Regions from separate parts of the Homo sapiens genome. Here all the other regions are linked to region 7. The links are contacts of gene promoters, found by promoter capture Hi-C in blood cells and fetal thymus (Javierre and others, 2016). All regions are on one chromosome and are shown on one strand. The core of a region is centred on a gene start or on the middle of the fragment in contact, and the rest is flanking DNA. Distances in the headings are between cores, read along the strand shown. Region 1 overlaps ABCA4 (ATP binding cassette subfamily A member 4). Region 2 overlaps SLC44A3-AS1 (SLC44A3 antisense RNA 1). Region 3 overlaps SLC44A3-AS1 (SLC44A3 antisense RNA 1). Region 4 overlaps ABCA4 (ATP binding cassette subfamily A member 4). Region 5 overlaps ABCA4 (ATP binding cassette subfamily A member 4). Region 6 overlaps ABCA4 (ATP binding cassette subfamily A member 4). Region 7 holds the start of ABCD3 (ATP binding cassette subfamily D member 3).

Region 1 (2,798 bases), core at 53-2,552, 360 kb before region 7:
AGATATGAGGGGCGGGTTGCAGGTTGTGGGGAGAGAAATGTGCTTCTGGCATGAGAACAGCAGGTGGAAAGGCCCTGAAGAGGAAATGCGCTCGGTGTATTAAACAGTCAGTAAGGAGGCCGACGTGGCTGGAGCAGAGGAACATGGAGGAGTAGGGAAAATCGTAAGATGAAGAAGAGAGTTGGAGGCCGGATAATGAAGCAGCTTGGAGGCCAGGGTTGAGACACTGGGTTTTACTCTGAAAGAGAGGAAAAGCCAGTGCAAGCATTTGACAGAGAGGGCTGACACCACATGACCTTGATTCTGAAAGGATCTCCCTGAATACAGTGTGCAGAATGGACTGATGGGAGGTGGTAGTGGAAGGAAGAGACTGGCATTGGGAAGGTTGTGGTGGAGGTGGTGACAAGAGATCAGATTCTGGATTTGTTTCTCAAGTAGAGCCAGTAGGATTTGCTGGTGGATTTTTAACTTCTAGATTTAAACTTCAAATGCTGGTTCTGACAAAGAGCTTGGAAGAAATGAAATTTAAACTAGATGAATGGAGAGGGCTGGGGATCTGAAGAACTCAATTACCTTTACCCTATAGAGGAGGATGCTTACCTGGAAACACCTGATCAAGGTACCAAGCGAGTAAGCCATAGACAGCAGCATCAAGGAGCATCATCTGCATGGACAGCAGGAAGCTGAATTCGTCCCCTTCCGTGGGACTGTTCCCGATGTTGCTCCACTGCAGCCCCAGGCCTTGCTCTTCAAAGCGAACCAGGTACTCAGTGCCAAATCCAAATGCCACCGGAGACAGTAAGCTCTGCAGTGAGGCGGAGAGGGCACAGAAAAAGAGCAGTGCCTTTTATCCAATGCAACAGCACCCAGATGCCCTCGAGGTAGAGGGGAGGGCCAAAAGAGGGTCCCCATTGTCTCTCAGTGTAAGGTCAGCTCAGGAGGGTGAAGGCAGTCTTTCCCTTGACGGCCAGGGGGAGTTCAGAGTGTCTCTCTGCAAACAAGAGAGTCTCTAGCTATACAGTCACAAAAAACATGAAACAATTCTCAGCCCAGCCCTAATCCACAGTTGCTAGACCTATAGCTTCCTAGTGATCTATGTACCCAAGAAGATGGCCTCAAATTCCATCTGCCTACTCAAGGATTACCAAAATAGCCCAACTCTGCCCACAGATGAGTCATAAGGATTTCTTGCCACTTATCCATTGTGATCATTTTAGAAAATTGGGTACTACAAATGGCAGCAATTGATTTCTTATTTAACCTAAGAAATGAAAGGCAGATGCCCTGACACCTCTGGAGCCTAATAAGTGTGAGTCGTGAGAACAAGTCAGACTTTCTGTCTTTTCCCAGTGAGGGCAGGTGGTTGTCCCTTCTTGACTCTACAGCACAGAGACAGGGAGACTCCGGAGGACAAGGGGAACTGCACCCTCCAGGGCCAGAGGCTGATTAGAGGGTGGAAATGGCCCATTTGAAAACAATTAGAGAAAAGACAGTGCTCTTTGTCTGGGTCTGGGAATTGTGAACTAGGAAGTTTCTCAGGCCATCAGAAGTCAGCTTCGGGAGTCCTCTCCTGGCCAGCGAGCCTGACTCTGTGGACAGTCTCATTTCTGCACTTCTTTCTGCAAACATTGGTAGAGCATGTTAAAGATACTTGTGGAAATACTCCAATTCAAGTTTTTTTGAAGCAAAACAAAAACCTTTAATTAATGGAAACATCTCTTTAGACAGATAGTAAAGTGGCAAGCTCCCTCCCTTCTGATTCTTCTCAAAGAGTAGGAAAGGAAAACTAGTGAAATGGGCTGCTGGCTCTCTCTTGTGAGTAAATAAAGGGACCCATGAGTTGAACTGGTTTTTTAATGACTTTCCAGGGCAGATGAATCAAGCAGGCGTGGTGAGGAGTCACTGTTGCATCGCTCGGGGTGAGGACTGCTCCCACTTTTGCCCCTGTACATTTTAGCCTCACGTGAACTTTTTAACCTTAGGTCAAAGGCAAAGTGGACCCCCTCAGAGGGCAGGCTGGGCCTCCAGGACTGCTACGGACCCTTCCAAGGAAACGTGTTGTAGGACAGGGGCCAGCCCAAGGGCCTCACCACAGCCTTCTTCAGCTCAGCGGTCATGCGGTCCTGCCAGGCGAAGCACAGGATGTGTGGCAGGTAGAGGGTGAAATAGATGACACCACTACAGGCTGCTGCCAGACTGGCCTTGGAGAAGAAGGTGCTGAGCAGAAAGCACAGCATGATGGTGGCAGTGGAGAAAGCCAACAAGAACAGGAAGAGGATGAATGGGTCGCTGTAATGTAGGATTCTTCCATGCTGAAACCAAGAGGCCATGCGTCAGTAACTCCTGCCCTTGGCCGGACGCCTTCTCATTCTGCCCTAAAGGGCTCTCTCCCACCAGCCTGCAGTTAGTGTCTAAATTTCTACGCACACTCCATGTGCTGAGTTCCTTTAATCCTAGGAATGCCATTTTCCCTGGGAGGAGTAGCACATTAGACTCCTAACAGTCATCAGTAATGTTAAAAAAATTAATTGGGAGACCATTAGGTTGAAACGGCCCCAGCATTCTGTGTTCCTACATCAGCAAACCAAAACCCAACTTAGAGAAACTTAACTAATCACAAACTGCCCACTAACCTGTAATCAGGGACTTTCCACTTGAACCAATCAAATATTTGCTTTGTTTTTCTTTGTCTTGCTTCCCTACCCCTCAGTGGGGCCCTGAACCACTTGTGATCTGGAGCCTCCTGTGAATCACTGTTTGCTGGAATCAACTCTAACATTTTAATGTGCCTAAGTTTC
Region 2 (2,700 bases), core at 80-2,579, 390 kb after region 7:
GCCCTTTGGAAGGCTGAGGCGGGCAGATCACGAGGTCAGGAGATTGAGACCATCCTGGCCAACATGGTGAAACCCCAGTCTTTACTAAAATACAAAAAATTAGCCGGGTGTGGTGGTGCATGCAGGTAGTCCCAGCTACTCGGGAGGCTGAGGCAGGGAATTGCTTGAACCCAGGAGGTGGAGATTGCAGTGAGTCAAGATTGTGCCAATGCACTCCAACCTGGGGACAGAGCGAGGCTCCGTCTCAAAAAAAAAAAATGTTGACATTTATTTCAGATATTTGGCAAAAAACAAAAATAGATGGTATCTTGGCAGTCAAAATGTAAACATAGGCCAGGTGTGGTGGCTCACGCCTGTAATCCCAGCACCTTGGGAGGCCGAGGTGGGTAGATCACGAGGTCAGGAGTTCAAGATCAGCCTGGCCAATGTGGTGATACTGCGTCTCTCCTAAAAATACAAAATTAGCTGGACGTGGTAGCAGGCACCTGTAATCCCGGCTACTCAGGAGGCTGAGGCAGGAGAATCACTTGAACCTGGGCGGTGGAGGTTGCCACTGCACTACAGCCTGGGCGACAGAGTGAGACTCCATCTCAAAAAAAGAAAAAAAATGAAAATGTAGTTTTACATTTCCAGTTAAACAAATGAACATTGCAGGTCATAAAATTCACTGAATGTTGCAGTAAGCTGGCTCTGGGAAAGATAAACAGAGGCTGCGGTTTGACCTGTGGGCCCCTGCCCTGCCTTTCATGACACTGCTCTCAGCCTTCAGAAGCCCTGGTGGCCTTGTGGTGTAGCTCTCTTCCTCTAAAAACCTGAGATAAGAAACGTATCTGGCATTAGTCATTTACATCTTATTATGGATTTATTACTCAAATGCCCTCTCCCAGGGCCATTTGTATTTTAATTTTTTCTCCAATGTGTGTTAAAAAGTTGTCCTCTCTAAGACAGCATTTTAGGTACATTAATCAGGTAGGGTAGGCACGAGAGAGGAGGGCTTTTCAAGTGCCTTGACAATCATTCCACCCACTTACCTAAGACCCTGCATATTTCAAAACAAATTAAGTTGTCCATGTCGTCAAAAAATGTAGTCTTTAACAGCACTACCCAGAACTGCTGCGTTTTTTTTTTTTTTTGGCCAGTGTTAATACTTGTTACACACACCACACACACACACACACGGGTACTTTGGTCAAATCTCTAGTATACTGATGAACACTGCAATAAATGGGATACAGAACAATATTTCTAAACCATATCTAACCACAGGATATTTTTTTCAATAGCGCCTCCAGGTCTACCGTTCCTCAGAACATGCAAGAGAGACCAGGTCATAATCTCCCTTCTGTTCAGTCTCCAGCACCATAAAAGAATAATTTGAAATGCCTTCCTGCTAGAACTCTCATTACTCATTAAAAGACACAGAAAGAAGAAAATGGTCTCTCAAGACTGGTACTCAGAGTGTCTCAGAGTGCCAGCAAGTGCTTCAGCAAGAGGCATCCCAGACACAGGTAGAAATGCTTGGTGAAGGTAAGTAGGAAATTTCTTGAGGTTGTTCATAGGAAGGCTCTGCCCTGCACAAATGCAGAAATGTAGGAGACAATAGATGTGATTAACATAAAAACACCACTAATATCCAACTAAATGGAAATGGTGAGACAAAAGAAAGCCAACAAATTAGACCAACCAGTCCCCAGCAGTTCATACATCTTATCTTCAGTAGAATTCAAGGACTTAGCAGTCTGACTGTTCTATCCTTCTATACTATGGTCAGAGAGTCTATGGTTAGATTGTTTGGTTTAGTCTATAAAGAACCAACCTCAATTTTATTTTATTTTTATTTTTTTAAACTTAAAAAAAGAGAGAGCAAGAGACAGGGTCTTGCTATGCTCCCCAGGCTGGTCTTGCATTCCTGGCCTCAAGCAATCCTCCCTCTCAGCCTCCCACAAGGCTGGTATTACAGGCATTAGCCACTGCACCTGGCCTTTTTTAACTTTTATTTTAGATTTAGAGGGTACATGTGCAGGTTTGTCACCTGGGCATATTGCATGATGCTGAGGTTTGAGGTACAAATGATCCCATTACTCAGGTAATAAGCATAATAACCAGTAGTTAGTTTTCTAATCCTTGCTCTCCTCGTTCACTCCCCCAATAGTCCCTAGTTTCTATTGTTGCCATCTTTATGTCCATAAATTCCAAATGTTTAGCCAACCTCAACTTTAAAATCACACATTAAAAAAAAGTGTAGAGTTAAAAAGTTCCAGATGACTCCCTACCATACACCATCATTTTTTGTAATATCCCCTAAAAAGCAAACTAAATTATGTTATTTAAGGAGTGAAATAATCTAAAATAATAAGTATGTTTAAGTAGGCTGGGCGCGGTGGCTCATGCCTGTAATCCCAGCACTTTGGGAGGCCGAGGCGGGCAGATCACCTGAGGTCAGGAGTTTGAAACCAGTCTAGCCTACACAGCAAAACCCCGTCTCTACTAAGAATACAAAAATTAGCCGGGCGTGGTGGTGCGTGCCTGTAATCCCAGCTACTCAGGAGGCTGAAGCACAAGAATCACTTGAACCCAGGAGGCAGAGGTTGCAGTGAGCCAAGATCACACCACTGCATTCCAGCCTGAGTGACAGAGTGAGACTCCGTCTCAAAAAAAAAAAAAAAAAGGTATGTTTAAGTAAGGGGGTAAACAAAACTG
Region 3 (2,700 bases), core at 112-2,611, 360 kb after region 7:
TGGATCCCATCAGAACATTTGTTTTTCATTTGTAATTGTATTTACTCTGGAGTCCTTCTGTGAACTGTTTGGTTATGACTAATAAGTTAGGAACAATTAGCTAAAATTCATTCAATCATAGGAATTTACATTTGGAGGGGTCATTAATGGTCATTTAAGTCCAGCATTTCTCCCAAGCAAGAATCCCTTCTACAGTCTTGGTCAGTAGTCTTTGGTGTCTGTTTGAATACCTCAGATGCTAAGAATCTCACTGACTCCCATGGAAGCTGAGTTTGTTTGTTTTTTTAAATGCTTATCTTCATGCCCATCAAAGATGAAAGTTTTATTTTGTTTGCATGTACACTTCTAATCCCCAGCACAGAACTCAGCACATCAAAAATCTTCAGTAAATGTTAATTGCCTGAATAAGTGGAGGTTTGAATCCATTCATTCATTTAGTGTATTATTGAATGTCTACTATGTGGTGGGTATTTATCTGAAGCACTGGGGGTACAGCAGTGGACAAGAAAGACATGGTTCCTGGCCCATGAGGTGTTTTCACTCTAGCTGGAAAGACTAATCTACCCATATTTCCCTTTCCTACTTAAATCTTAGACATATCATCAGTAGGCAGATGGAAGCAGCCACTATTAGGACAGGTTGAGGAATAAGTAGCAATTTCTTACACATTCTTAGAGATTACTTGAGAACCTCCAGGGAAGACTACACTTCCTGTCAGGCTGGGCTGGTGGATGTTCAAGTCAGTATTGTTTGAATATTAAAGAAATGTAACCTTATTTTATCCCTATAGCTGATGCAGCAGGACATTCAATACAAAGAGAGAGAAGATGAAGCTGTATTAACACATACATATATGTTCTACTTATTGATACATTTATATATATGTATACACACACACATTTATTCTTATTCAAACACATACACACTCACATAAAAATGGAAAGATATTCACCTAATTTTTTAAATGATTATCTCCAAGTAGTGGGATTATAGATTTATTCTTTTAGTTTTTCTATATTTGACACATTTTCTTCAGCAAACAAATATTACTTAAATAAGCAAAACAATTGTATTAAACACACACACACACACACACACACACACCCACACACAGCAAGTCCGGCTAACTGGTCACGCTGCTGATGCCTCCATGCTTTGTTCCTGCAAATGCCTTCTCCCTCCTCTCTCCCTTTCAACATCTTCCTCGCCCTGTAAATAATCTCAGCTCAAGCATCATCTCCACTAGAAAGCTCTCCTGATGCCCACCTTCCCCAGGGACCCTATACCCCACTTTCTTTGTGCACTTGCTGAACTAGGTAGAGACATTTATGATGGTGCCTTACAGCTATGCATGGCCTGCTCGCCTGATTGCCAGTGCCTGCAGGCCTGGCTCTGTGCCGCTCATCTGCACAGTGCCTCACCCTCAGTAGGGAATTGGGAGATAAGGGATGAATCCCTGAGCCTCTCCTAGGTCACTGATATGGCTGCTCATTGGTCATTCTCCTCTGTAGCTGAGATCACATTGCCCTCCTTACAAACTACTGATGGCTCCTTACTGCCTACTGAAAAAAATGCAACATCTTAGGGCATCCAAGAGCCTCCACAATATGATACCAGCTTGTACCCCATCCCAGGAGTACTCATCCAGCCCTAAACAGGTCATGCCTCCCCACCTTTGCCACTGCTATTCTTTTAAACTAAAATGATTTTCCCCATCTCTACCTAAGGAGTGTCTAAAAATAATTTCTACTCATCCTTACACTAGCTCGAAAGCCACTGATGCTCTGATGTGCTCATCAAAATCTCTGTTGGGAGTATCTGCAATCTCATATGCCCTGGGGTTCCTGTCTGTCCCTACAGCCACGTAAAGTAAGCACCATGAAGGCAGGGGTCATGCCTTAATCTTAATTTAGGAGGCACTCACTGAGGAGCTGTTGATTTAAAATGATTTGGAAAAGAAAAAGTCCACGTTCTCTTCCAAATGAAGGGCTATACAAGTTACTGTGAATGGTTTTAATACAGAAAATGAGAGAAAAGAGATCCAAAAAAATAAAGTGAAATGGGATAGGTTACCAAACAAAGAATGAAACCATATAAGTAGAATTTGCTTTAAGATAAACATTTAGGTATTGAATATCTGAGATTTCTGTTTCCTTGTTTTATGAGCACAGGATTGTAGGAGAGTCAGCGAGCAACCCCAACACCCTTAAGTTCTTAGGTGGTATTTTTGGCTAGAACTAGAAACCAAATGGACACCAGGCAGATTAACAAGATAAAAGCATACTAATTGTATTGGTTTTAAGGAACGTAGGTGTCATGCCAGATCCCTATTGACTCCAATAGGAATGGCACCATGTCTGAGAGGCCAAACAAGAGACCCAGAGCCAGCAAACGAGACACGGGGTTTTATTAGGGAGAAATTACATACAGGAATAGTCCAGTGGTGGAAGACTGAACAGGAAACTGTAACTGCTTGAAAAAAGCATGTAGTTTAGATAGCACCTTCACTTAGCACGCTCCCCCCGACAACCTCCATGTGGCAACCCTCATTTCTTAAGTCATTGCTGGCAGGTGCATCTGCCGTATAGGGTCATTCTCAGGGTGTGAATAAGTCAGTGCTGTCAGATGCAACTACTGTGCCCGTGGGATCTTCACAAGAGAGTGAAATCCAAAGAAATGCCCAAAGCAAGATGTCTTTAT
Region 4 (2,700 bases), core at 201-2,700, 390 kb before region 7:
AGAGTGTGGGTTTGTGAGTGTGTGTGTGTGAGAAAGAGAGAGAGAGAGAAAGATAGAGAGAGAATGAGAAAGAGATTGAGAGAAAGAGTGAGAAAGAGTGAGAGAGTGAGAGATAAAGAGTAAGAGATAGATAGAGACAGAGAGATTGAGAGAGAAAGAGAGAGAGAGAAAAAGAGTGAGTGAGAGAGACAGAGCGCGCACAGCTCCTGTGCATATGCGTGGCATTCAGTTTTGCTCCAATGGAAGGCACGTATAATAGTGAGGAAATGCAGAAGTGAAAGAAAATGGCAGGAACTGGCTTGCCTTTTTCTAGGACTTTGGCTGTTACATTTTGTCCAGGGACCAAGGACCAACACTACTGAAAATAAGTTTCTAAGCTGGACAGACCGCGTGGAAGTAAGGGTTCGTTTAGGAAATGAAACACCATGTAGGTAGGCTTGGCCTCCCCTCCCTCGCCCTGGCCAAGAGCTCAGGGTACAGTATCACAGCCTTGACGTCCTGATGCTGGAGGGTTTTGAGTGGAGGCAGCCACAGGAGCCCTCAGCATTGACAGCAAAGCAAACAAGCAAAGCTTCCTCTTGGGGCACAGAGGACTGAGACAAGTTCCTTGGGTCCTTCTTTTGGGATCCCTATGATGCAGCAGATGAGCTGTGATTCAAAGAGAGAAAATATTGCTTGAGAAATATAAAGATACATGCTTTAGAATATAAAAAAGAGCAGGGATCGGGTGTTCTTGGCCTAGAACCATTTATAAACCAGACTGTGATAGGTGCTGTGGCAAAATCTAGTTGCTCCCATTATTTGCTCCTCCCTGCTGCCTTAGCCATAGCCTTTTTTGTTGGGTTTGTAAGTGGAAGTACTATGTGGGAACTTCAGAAAACCTTCCCTAAACATAGCACATGTGCACACTCTGCCCTCTGTTTTGCTTCATCCTTCTTCCATTCCGCTGCCTGGAAGGCAGCTCCTGCCTTATTGGCTGATGAGGCTGAGGCCTGTTTAGTGTGGAGGAGAAAGAGAATAGAACATCGTGCACCACCCACGTAGACTTTTAGATGAGTGAGAAACAAGTTGTGTCTTGTTTTATCTGCTGTTAGTTTGGGGTTGTCATCACTTGAGTTGAATCTAATTCTAAATAATTCCTTGCCCACATGATTTCATTAAATCCTCATAATAATATTATGAAATAAGCAGTTATTCCCAATTCACAGGTGATAAAATTAAGGCTCAGAGAGGTCAAGTAGTCCACCTGGGGCTCTCCGTGTCCCATACCTGTGCTTTCCCACTGAACTGCATAGCCTGTTTGGGAACAGTTTATTCATTGACAAATCATTGGACAGGGCTGTCTAAGGCCCAGCCCTGGCAAGTCAGCTGGGAGGCCCATTATCAACCACGGACACAGCCTTCTTTGATGTCTCTAAATCCCCCAGGAGATGCTCACTGTAATCTGTTCTGGACTTTAGAACTCCCAGGACAGGGTGCTGCTCAGAGCCAAGATCATTAATGTCCCTGCAAAAGATGGATGCTGGCTGTGCATGTATTTGTGTACATACCTGCAGATGTTAGAGACACAGCACATGGAGAGCTTCTTAATTAAGACTGTTAATAAGTGTGTAAACACATTTCCATTTGAATGTACATCATAGCATTGCTTATAATGGTGAAAACTAAAAAACCTAAGTGGCGAATAATGGGAGATCAGTTAATTTAAAGTAACTTTAGGCCAGGAGCAGTGGCTGACGCTTGTAATCCTAGCACTCTGGTAGGCAGAAGTGGGTAGATCACTTGAGGCCAGGAGTTCAACACCAGCCTGGCCAACATGGTAAAACCCCATCTGTACTAAAACTACCAAAAAAATTAGGCGGGCATGATGGTGCATGCCTGTAATCCCCACTACTCGGGGGGGCTGAGGCACAAGAATTGAACCTGGGAGGCAGAGGTTGCAGTGAGCCGAGATCACACCGCTGCACTCCAACCTGGGTGACAGAGAGAGACTCTGTCTCAAAAAAAAAAAAAAAAAAAAAAAAGAAATTCAAACAATGGGATAATATACAGATATTAAAAGTGATGCAGATGTCTATTTATTGACATGGATGCATGTTCCTAGTAAATTATGCAGTAAATCAGATTTTAAGACAATATTTGGAATATAATCTGTTTGGGTGGCTGCAAACCAAACATTATCTGTGTTTATATCCAAGCGATGATTTTTTTTCCTTCTGACTTACCTGTGTTTTCTAATTTTTCTATAATGAGCACATATGACTTAATTTTTTTTAGTGCTTAAACACATTTTTTCTACTAGATCAAATAGGAAGTATCTGGTGGAAAATGAAGCTTTTGGTGAGTGGCTTCCTCCAGTTGGCAGCCACAGCGCCCTGTGGGGAGCCCCTCCCAGAGGGTGCAGGGAGTTTGGTTTAGTCCCCTACTCAACTGCCAGTTTGAAATGTTAGTTTGTGAGAGACTCAGGAGATACCAGGGACTCCCCTAGTCCCTCTGTGGCAGGCAGACCTGGGGCCCCGTTGTTTGGAGGTCAGGTACCTGGGGGGGCGGGAGGCCCCCGGCACCCTCGGGGCACTCTGGCAGCATGGTGAGCTTCTCCCTGGTGCTGCACCTGCAGGATGGTGAAGGGTTGACCTGTGTCCATTTCTGCTTCTGGAACAGCTGGGTGATGTTTGGGGACACAGAAGGAGTCTTCCAGGG
Region 5 (2,700 bases), core at 195-2,694, 420 kb before region 7:
TTGTCAATCAATTTCTGAAGGGCACTCAGCTGAGGGCACTGTGATTCTGTCAGATCACCCAGGTTATGGGCCATCTTTCTCTCCTTCTCTATGAAATCTATGAATCAGGTCTCCCTGGTACTAAGATCCAGGCATTTGTTACAAAGACACACATACGAGATGTGTGCATACATGCTTACATCCTGGGGGGAAGCTACACCCATGGTGCTGTTTCCAAGGGCTCTTACAGGGTCTTTTGGGGCTTTTTTAGCTTAAGAAAGTTACCATTATCTTAAAAGCCAAGAAATCCTAATTTAGGTCAGCCCTGAGGTATAGAATTCCCTTGACCACTTCCTGTAGGGGTGGCTCTGGGAAGCATGAAAGTGTGACTGGGGGAGGGGAGAGATGAGAGCTGGAGTGCAGGATATTAGGCTCCAGATCAAAGCTTGGGCTTTGATTAATAAAGATGTCCATGTTCCTTGAGAAGCGGACACCAAGGTGACCTTTTTAACTGGAGAGATACTGTCTCCAGTTATAAAGTGTGGGTTGAATTCCTGAACCAATGCCCGCTGTGGAGCTGGGGTAGTGTGGGCGAGGAGGGGACTGGACAAAGGCCTGACCAGTCTAGACGAAATGTGGTTTATCCCATTATCTGATTTAAAATCACACATCCTCTTAAGAGGATGACTAACACAGTTCTTAGGGCTGAGAACAGGATTTGAGGTGGTGCGAGGATCCCCATCAAGGCTGAGGGTACTTCAGAAACTTCTGAAACTAACACAAAGATACGAGTTATATGGGGGAACTGGAACAGTGTAAGAATAAGGATTAGAAATTGATCTGAGTTGTTCCTAATTTGGGAATGCACATGCGATGGTCACATAATTATTAACCTATTTAGGATGTTTCTAAGTTGTCTGATCATCTGTCACTACTTAATCTATTAACACCTTGACCCTCACTGGTTTTAATAACAGAGTATAAGATTGCATAAGACCTTATCCCAAAACATGTTTTCCAGGATGGAGTCCTTTGGAGAGTAAAAATGTTCTTGGTAAGCAAACGCTGATTTCTAGAGAAATATCTGTGTGGTCCTGGCTCACAATTTGGAGTTGTAAAGCCAATGGCCAGATGAACCTCCTGAAGTTCTCACATTTGCTTAGGAGCAAGTTGTAAATTCTCTCTAAAACTTCTTGAGAGAAATTGCCTTTTTCTTGTTTGAAGAATACTTTAAAGGAAATTATTTTGAAGTGGTATAATGTAAACAATAATATACTTACTATTATTTCATGACAGACATATACAATGCTATATGAAAGAATTTTTGCAAACCTTTGTAAAGATAGTATGTTGTAAAGTCAGAATTAGGTTTTGGATGAAAATTATCAGAAAAATATGCCAATAAGTGTGTTGCAGGTTTTCTAATCTTTGTGAACAAAAATGTAAAAAACACAATAGAAAAATGATCTCATCCAATAAGGGAGAAAAGTTTGGAATTAACTGCTGTAGATCACAGAACATCAGCACCCCTGATGTTCTGCCTGGCCCAGAGGTGATGTGGTGGGATTAGTCCTTTAAGAGGGAACATGCCAGGCAGGGGTGGGGAGACCATTGGTAATTCTGGGAAACAATTTTGCTACCCAATTCTATATTCTGAGTTACAGAGTTATAAAAAGGATTTGCAACTGCAAGTGGTTTTTAAAAATAATTTTCAACTGATGTCAACAGCAATCACCAGATCTATAAATGGGAATCAGTGGCTGGAAGATCTCAGTAAAAGCAAACTTTCTGTAACTAAAGGAGCCTTAGGCATTTCTGGGCCCTCTGGCAGGTAAGGGGTGGGAAGACAAAGTCAGTTTTGCCAAGTAGCCATTAGGTCTCTGCTGGTCAAGAGGAAGGGAAAAAATTCATCACAAGCACTGCTTTAGACAGCAGTGTTTCAATCATTAGCTGTATTTGGTTTTTCTTGCAATCCAGAAACTGGGCAGAATAAAAACTTTATGGGGAAATAAGGTTTTTGCATATCCTTGCTTCTTGATTTGATTTGATTTACTCTCCAGGTAAGTCAGAAGAGAGTGGCTAATTCATCCCTCTACAATCCCAGGCTTAAGCCAAGGCATTGGGATGCTGGTGCCTCCTCCAGTACTTGCTCTAGCTCTCTCCTTCTTGGGTGGTGTGCTCCTTACATGGGGCACTGTGCCAGGGCAGGAACCTACAAGCACCTATTCCAAGAGTTATCACAAGCCAGGAGACATACCTCCTATTGCTTCTTTCTCCATCTTCTTGTAATTTTTATAAAGAACAAAGAGCCCTCTTCCTACAACAGATGCTATTCCTTGATCTAACCAAATGTGTCTGACACTGAAATGATGTGCCAGTTAAGTCCCTTCCCTTGAAACTCAAACACATGTCCAGACATAGATGTCAAGCACCCAAAACATTCTAATATTCTCTATTACCTTCTCTGCTCCTTATTCCCCAAATCCAAGCTTTTTTGCTGTAAGCAAAAACATGGGAAAGTTCTTTTCAAAAATGCTCTCCCATGCTATCCAGATGGTTTCCTGATTACAATAGGAACCCCTACAACTACTGAATGAAAAGTTCTTCAGCACAGAACACACAGTGGCAGGGACTTAGCAAGGATGTGATGAGGATGTGGTGGGGACTTGGTAGGGACCGTGGTGTGGGTGGGGCTCTCTGTAGGAGGCATATCTGAGCCTT
Region 6 (2,716 bases), core at 1-2,500, 410 kb before region 7:
CTTCCACCACCATGGCAAACAGGTTCTTCCCAATCAGGTCCCAGTGGAACGGATTTGCAGAGTGCTCCTCACCTGGGCATCAACAGGAATTGAGTCCACTTCAGCCGCCCCAGCTCACCCCACAGACCTGGCCACAGCACAGGGCCCACTAGACCAGGCCTTATGTGGGAACTGAGCAAGAGCCAAACACCCGCCTCATAAGGGCTGCCCTCCATCCCTCCTGTGGCTCCCCAGCCATGGAAACAGAGGCACCCTAATCCTCTCCAGCTGGCAGGACACCTCCAGCCCAACAAGGTCCCCTCCTAGCACCAGCCCCTGCCACAGTCTGATGCAGGAGCCCCCCCGGTAACCCTCCCAGCTTTGGACCCAGGGCCCATGCTCCATGGGCCTCGGCTACCACCCACCAAACCGGGCATAGACATCTGTCACAGCCTGGCTCAGTGCAAGGTCAATGAGGCCCCGGCCCAGGCAGAAGTGGGGGAAGACAATGAGCAGCTTCCTCAGCACGGCGTTGAACCTGAGCAGCGTCTGAAACAGAGAAGTAGGACTGTTGGAAACGGGGCAAACCCCACCCCCCCTCTCTTCAGCAGGTGGGGCCCAGATGCTCTCACAGGACAGCACAGGGCAAGGCCTGCAGACAGAGAGTCCTTGCAGCCAGACTGGCCACTGGAGGGATTTGTCCAGCAGAGCATCATGGGTTTGCAATGGAGGTCATGAAGTACTTACAAGCAGTGCCTCAAGGCCAGGCCAAGGAGCTAATCAATTAAATGACCAATCAAGGACTGGGGCTCCCTGCAAGTTTCTAGTGGGCGGGAGCTTCCCCTTTGTCTAGCCAGGCAGCATCTTCTAAACATTTACTATGCTCAGTACCATGTGGGCACCGAGGCTAACTGTGAGGAACCTGCATTACTGTCCTTACCCCTCCCCTAGGTGACTCTGGGGGTGACAGCAGGAATGTGCAGAGAAGCTGCAGCCCTCCTGCTGTCCACTTAGGGAGCTCTCCCTGCAGACTCACTTTGAAACAACAGGAGCCCTCAAGGCATTTGTTAACACCAGGCCCTGAGCCATCTCCAGCTCTGCTTTTCAGCCCCTCACAGGGCAACTACCATTGTCTAGGGAGAGGAGGGTTGGAGACTCTCTCTGGGGTCTGTGTTAAGCCAGGGACTTGTTTTCAAGTGGTCGGACTTGGCATGTTGGGCAGAGCCTCCCCTGAGAAAATAGAAGGGACATCGAGGCGTACGAGGCCAGCATAGCTCCTGGCTGGGCCACTGCTGTCCATTCCATCTGGCTCCTCCCAGTCCCACAACCTCCTCCCTCTCCAGCCTCCACACCTGCGCCCACATTACCTCATCCTTCCCTGCCTACCCTTTCTCCCCACTCTTTCTGGAATCACTGTGCTCTTTGGCCTCTAGGCCTGGGCATGTGCAGGCTGTTACCTATTGCTCCAAGCAGGAAAGAATGCTCTTTTCCCTTCTGCTTTCTTAAAGATTCCTGTTCTTCTTTAGACAGCTGGCTCAGAGAGTGCCTTCCCTTACAAGCCTTCCAAGATTCCCATGAGAAAGTATCCATTCCTCTCTCCCAGCACTTATCACATTCCCATGATTAATTTTTTAAAAATCTGCCTACTTTCTCTACTAGTCAGTGGGCCCCTGGAGGGTGGGCACTGAGTCCTAATTATTTTTTTGTCCTTCCTAAATACCTGCACAATGATTAGCTCAGAGTAGGCACTTCATTATTTATTAAATGGGCTAATAGAAATCTACAGGCTGAAATTGAACTTCCTCCACCACGGCTCCCCCAGCCCCTGCAGCCTGGCTCTTCCCGCTGCCTCTGGCCTGCAGCATGTTATCTGCCTCGCTCCTCTGCTGCTCTGTCACACGCTGTATTATGGAGGATCATACACTGTGGCTTATATCGTTGCAAACTTCGTGGGCAGGTCCTTTTCCGACTGGAACGGGAGCCTCTGGAGGGCAGGACGAGTGGGCCACGCTTGTTTATATCAGCACACACCCGGCACGTGGTGTTCAGCTGGTAAAGACCTCCTGATCTCACACGGGCCGGCAGCTGCTGGGAGCTGGGGAGCTTCCTGTGGGATACTGGGGGTTTCCATAGCAGCTGTGTATCGGATAATTTACATGAAAATACCAGGTTTTTGAAGGCGGGTGCTTAGCAAATGTTGGCTAAATGGGTGCAGCCTCAGAGGGGAAAATGTTCTGAGTTGCTTTAAGCTGGCTATTTAATTATTCTGAAGGAAAACTGTCTTAAGACTTAGTGGGCTGTGAGCCTGTGGCAAACACAGCTCTGCAAAGCAGCACTTTCAGTCACCTGGGTGCTCTGGCCATCTGCTGGGGCTGTGTTCTTATCCCCCCGCCTTTCCAGAGTCTGACTCTGACATGCTGAATTTCTTATCATTCATGGGACAGATGAGGCTTCGTTACTTGCCTAGCAGCCACGAAACCCTAACAAGATCTGGAAAGAGTCAGTCTCAGGGGTCCACGGGTCTGGGCGGTTCATGGTGGGGCCTCCGCACAGATTTGTCCTGTGTTCCCCAGTGGGGCCCAGAGGCAGGTGGAGGTGGGTGTGGCAGGGCAGCAGTGCAGATGTGCTGGCCGGTCCCACCCTCTGAACTGGGAAGAGCTAATGAGGAGAGGAAAGGTTGAGGCGCCTGGGGACACAGGCACGTGGTGAGGCAAATGTTCCAAGGACAGCCACAGCC
Region 7 (2,700 bases), core at 8-2,507:
CCAAAACCTTTTGTCCCTCCAGGTAATGAAAATGTCCACATGACAAATAGTGAATTAGTAGGAGCTTCAGTTCTGCATAATTTAGAATTCACTGTTGAGCACCTCTATACGCATGCCATTATTGTACCTCGTCTTTGTGATCCTCATAACCTGTATTAGGCAACAGCTCATTTATATTGAGAAAACACCTAGGGCACAGCACCACTACTTTGTAGGCTACTTTAATATGTATGTGCATTATGCGAGGTTTTATGAGCTTATTTTCTGACACACTTGCTTTTCTCCAGTTTCCTCAGCTGAAAACAGCGATTCACTGTTACTGTATATATGCTAGGCTCAATGCTGGCGATAACAATTCCTGCAACATAGGGTCAGACAGGAGAAGAATGTTGTAATCTGCAAAGCCCTTCTGATTCTGGGAGTGAGGCCAGCATTAATACAACGCACGATTGTTACTTCTGAATGTCCCTTTGCAAAGAACAGTGTTTCTCAAACTTTTTTCTGACCAGATCTGCATACATTTTACATCGCCGCTGGCGATACATACGTGCAAAACACTGAAATCGAAATTTCTCTAAACAACTCCTTTACTACGTGATGTACTGTGAAACTTTTCTATTTTGTTCTATTCTCAATTTTATTAAAAACGGAGGGTGATGATCCCGATCTACCAAACCAATTTCACAATGCGCTAGAGATTATAACCCGCGGTTTGGAAAATACTGGCTTGGAAAAAGCTCTTTGATCTGTGTCATTCTCCTCACATCTCCCTACACCTCTGCGGAGTTCCGATTGTTTGGTTTCGTCCTGATAATCACTGTGCTGTGTTTTCCCTACACGCTCTGTGACGGGGCCGTCCGCCTCCTTCCTGGGCTCCTTTAAGAGGGTGGTAACGGTACATCACCGCGGGAGTGGAGAGGCAGGGCCCACTAGGTCGTCGCTGCAGGCCAGGCCCGCTCATCCAGTTATTGTGAAAGCCGGGGTGTGCGCGCGAAGAGTGGGAGGGTAGGGGTGAGGCAGGGGCAGCACTGACGCCTCGCAGGGCTGAGTAGCAACAGCTCCTCCGCGCCGCGTTTCCGGAGACCCTGAAGGAGTCCGCGCGTGCGCAGAGCGCGTCCCGGGAACTGTTCCGCCCACGGAGGCTGCCGAGCGCGCTCCCGCCGGGCCAAAGTACAAAGTGGGCTCCAGAGCGCGGGCGGCGCGGCGGCGCGAGCCAGGGGGCGGTCCTGCGCGGCCGGCCCCGCCCTCTGCTCTCCTCCCAGTCTCCCCCGCGCTGCGTGCAGTAAGGTAGCCGCCGCCGCCGCCGCCGCCGCGTCCCCTCGCCGGCTCGCTGGTACCGGCAGTGCCATGGCGGCCTTCAGCAAGTACTTGACGGCGCGAAACTCCTCGCTGGCTGGTGCCGCGTTCCTGCTGCTCTGCCTGCTCCACAAGCGGCGCCGCGCCCTCGGCCTGCACGGGTAAGAAGGCCCGTAGCCGTGCAGCTTTCCCGGGCTGGAGCGGGCGCTCCCCGCGCGCTCTCTCTCCCCACCCGGCCGACAGGTCTCTTTGCCCGACGGGGTCGGGCGGAGAGAGGGCCGACCGCGACTGCCGTGGGACTTCAATGTCAGGGTGTCCGCGAGTCCCCGCCACGACGGCGTCGGTCCCAGCTGGCCTGTCCGGCGACCTCGCTCCACCCCGGGAGTGCGAATTCTTCTGTGCCCGCGGGCGAACCGGCGCCCAGCCAGCACTCAGGCAGCGGCCTCCAGTTGGGGGTGGGAGGGGGATGCGGTGTGTCCCCCACCCCCTTCCCTACATCACCCCCTTCTGTGTCAACTTTCTGGGTGTGTTCTGGTTTTGCCATCTCATCTTCAGACCGTGAAGGATTTGTTTTGGGGACGTGGATGTGTGATTGAGGATGGGGATTGGATTCGCCAGGCTGGAGGCTGGTGTCTAAGTCACTTGGACGAGGTTTGGCTCGATTCCCGACTAACTGCTATTGAAAGTCGCGAGGGTGGCTTCTATGAAACTATTCCCGGTCCACTTGGCAGGATTGCCGTCTAAAGTGGTGAGCCCTTGGAGTCGGTGAACCCTTTGGTCGGTGAACATTTGGTCGGTGGCATTTCATCCGGAAAGGCTGGATCGGTTCTGTCGGACTTAGAGGGAAATGTTTTCCTTCCTGGGCTCTGTAGGTGAAAGATGAGAGTGTGGTTTAGGTGAGGATCAAGCTCCTTTTTAATGACACGCCACTGCTTCCACCGCGGGAGAATTTCAGTGCTTAGATTTAACTTTGGGAGGTTATCAGTTCAGAAAAAGTAAAAAAGAGAGAGCTGAATTACGGTTGCGACATACAGGTATGTATGTCACATACATGCAATTTTTATTTGCTGGACAAGTGAAAGAGAAAAGGCTACTTCCCAAGCGTTCTTGCCAGTCATTGAATATTTCGTATTAAATCTTGACATACTACTTTCATGAATTTTATTTCATTCATTCCTCTGAGCAGGTACTGTTGCCTCCCGTGTTTGATTTGCCTACAATATCTAATTAGTAGTAAAATTTGGGCTAAAACACAAATAGACTTCTAGTTTATAGTACCCTTTCCATTAAGTTCTTTCTAGCCGCCTTCTGTTTTTATCTTACTAGAGTCTGAAGTGATGATCTTTCTTTTCCTTCCTAAATCCATTTAACAGAGTTGAAAATGATTTGCAGCATAGTCTGGGC

What was found. Contacts are between HindIII fragments. The CHiCAGO score rates a contact against its expected background, and 5 or more counts as called.
Region 1: a contact is called between a fragment that was not itself captured here and the fragment with the promoter of ABCD3 in region 7, in 3 of 17 cell types (fetal thymus, M0 macrophages and M1 macrophages). The highest score is 7.8, in fetal thymus.
Region 2: a contact is called between a fragment that was not itself captured here and the fragment with the promoter of ABCD3 in region 7, in 1 of 17 cell types (monocytes). The highest score is 5.4, in monocytes.
Region 3: a fragment that was not itself captured here is called in contact with the fragment with the promoter of ABCD3 in region 7 in 4 of 17 cell types (neutrophils, monocytes, naive B cells and 1 more); the score reaches 6.8 in neutrophils.
Region 4: a fragment that was not itself captured here is called in contact with the fragment with the promoter of ABCD3 in region 7 in 6 of 17 cell types (M2 macrophages, fetal thymus, endothelial precursors and 3 more); the score reaches 10.1 in M2 macrophages.
Region 5: a contact is called between a fragment that was not itself captured here and the fragment with the promoter of ABCD3 in region 7, in 1 of 17 cell types (endothelial precursors). The highest score is 5.1, in endothelial precursors.
Region 6: a contact is called between a fragment that was not itself captured here and the fragment with the promoter of ABCD3 in region 7, in 1 of 17 cell types (M1 macrophages). The highest score is 6.2, in M1 macrophages.

Annotation. Positions count from the first base shown.
Region 1 is chr1:94,054,511-94,057,308 of GRCh38, forward strand. ABCA4 (ATP binding cassette subfamily A member 4) reads right to left here. Exons shown (of 50, transcript NM_000350.3): 15 at 2,091-2,312; 16 at 601-805. Among named protein-coding and RNA genes, the nearest start is that of ABCA4, 65 kb to the right of the region's middle. The HindIII fragment of the contact is 6,519 bases long and covers 1-2,798 here.
Region 2 is chr1:94,807,540-94,810,239 of GRCh38, forward strand. All of the region lies in intron 1 of SLC44A3-AS1 (SLC44A3 antisense RNA 1), which reads right to left. Among named protein-coding and RNA genes, the nearest start is that of SLC44A3-AS1, 11 kb to the right of the region's middle. The HindIII fragment of the contact is 2,796 bases long and covers 1-2,700 here.
Region 3 is chr1:94,778,758-94,781,457 of GRCh38, forward strand. The region is part of intron 1 of SLC44A3-AS1 (SLC44A3 antisense RNA 1); the gene reads right to left. Among named protein-coding and RNA genes, the nearest start is that of MIR378G, 34 kb to the left of the region's middle. The HindIII fragment of the contact is 3,150 bases long and covers 1-2,700 here.
Region 4 is chr1:94,026,907-94,029,606 of GRCh38, forward strand. It overlaps ABCA4 (ATP binding cassette subfamily A member 4), which reads right to left. Exons shown (of 50, transcript NM_000350.3): 30 at 2,539-2,700. Among named protein-coding and RNA genes, the nearest start is that of ABCA4, 93 kb to the right of the region's middle. The HindIII fragment of the contact is 1,763 bases long and covers 570-2,332 here.
Region 5 is chr1:93,993,325-93,996,024 of GRCh38, forward strand. The region is part of intron 49 of ABCA4 (ATP binding cassette subfamily A member 4); the gene reads right to left. Among named protein-coding and RNA genes, the nearest start is that of GCLM, 85 kb to the left of the region's middle. The HindIII fragment of the contact is 2,044 bases long and covers 423-2,466 here.
Region 6 is chr1:94,010,858-94,013,573 of GRCh38, forward strand. ABCA4 (ATP binding cassette subfamily A member 4) reads right to left here. Exons shown (of 50, transcript NM_000350.3): 39 at 405-528; 40 at 1-72. Among named protein-coding and RNA genes, the nearest start is that of GCLM, 100 kb to the left of the region's middle. RefSeq lists an enhancer at 454-953. The HindIII fragment of the contact is 3,950 bases long and covers 1-2,716 here.
Region 7 is chr1:94,417,132-94,419,831 of GRCh38, forward strand. It overlaps ABCD3 (ATP binding cassette subfamily D member 3), which reads left to right and starts at 1,258. Exons shown (of 23, transcript NM_002858.4): 1 at 1,258-1,457. The coding sequence starts at 1,348. RefSeq lists enhancers at 447-1,238, 1,710-1,849 and a silencer at 1,000-1,379. The HindIII fragment of the contact is 10,166 bases long and covers 1-2,700 here.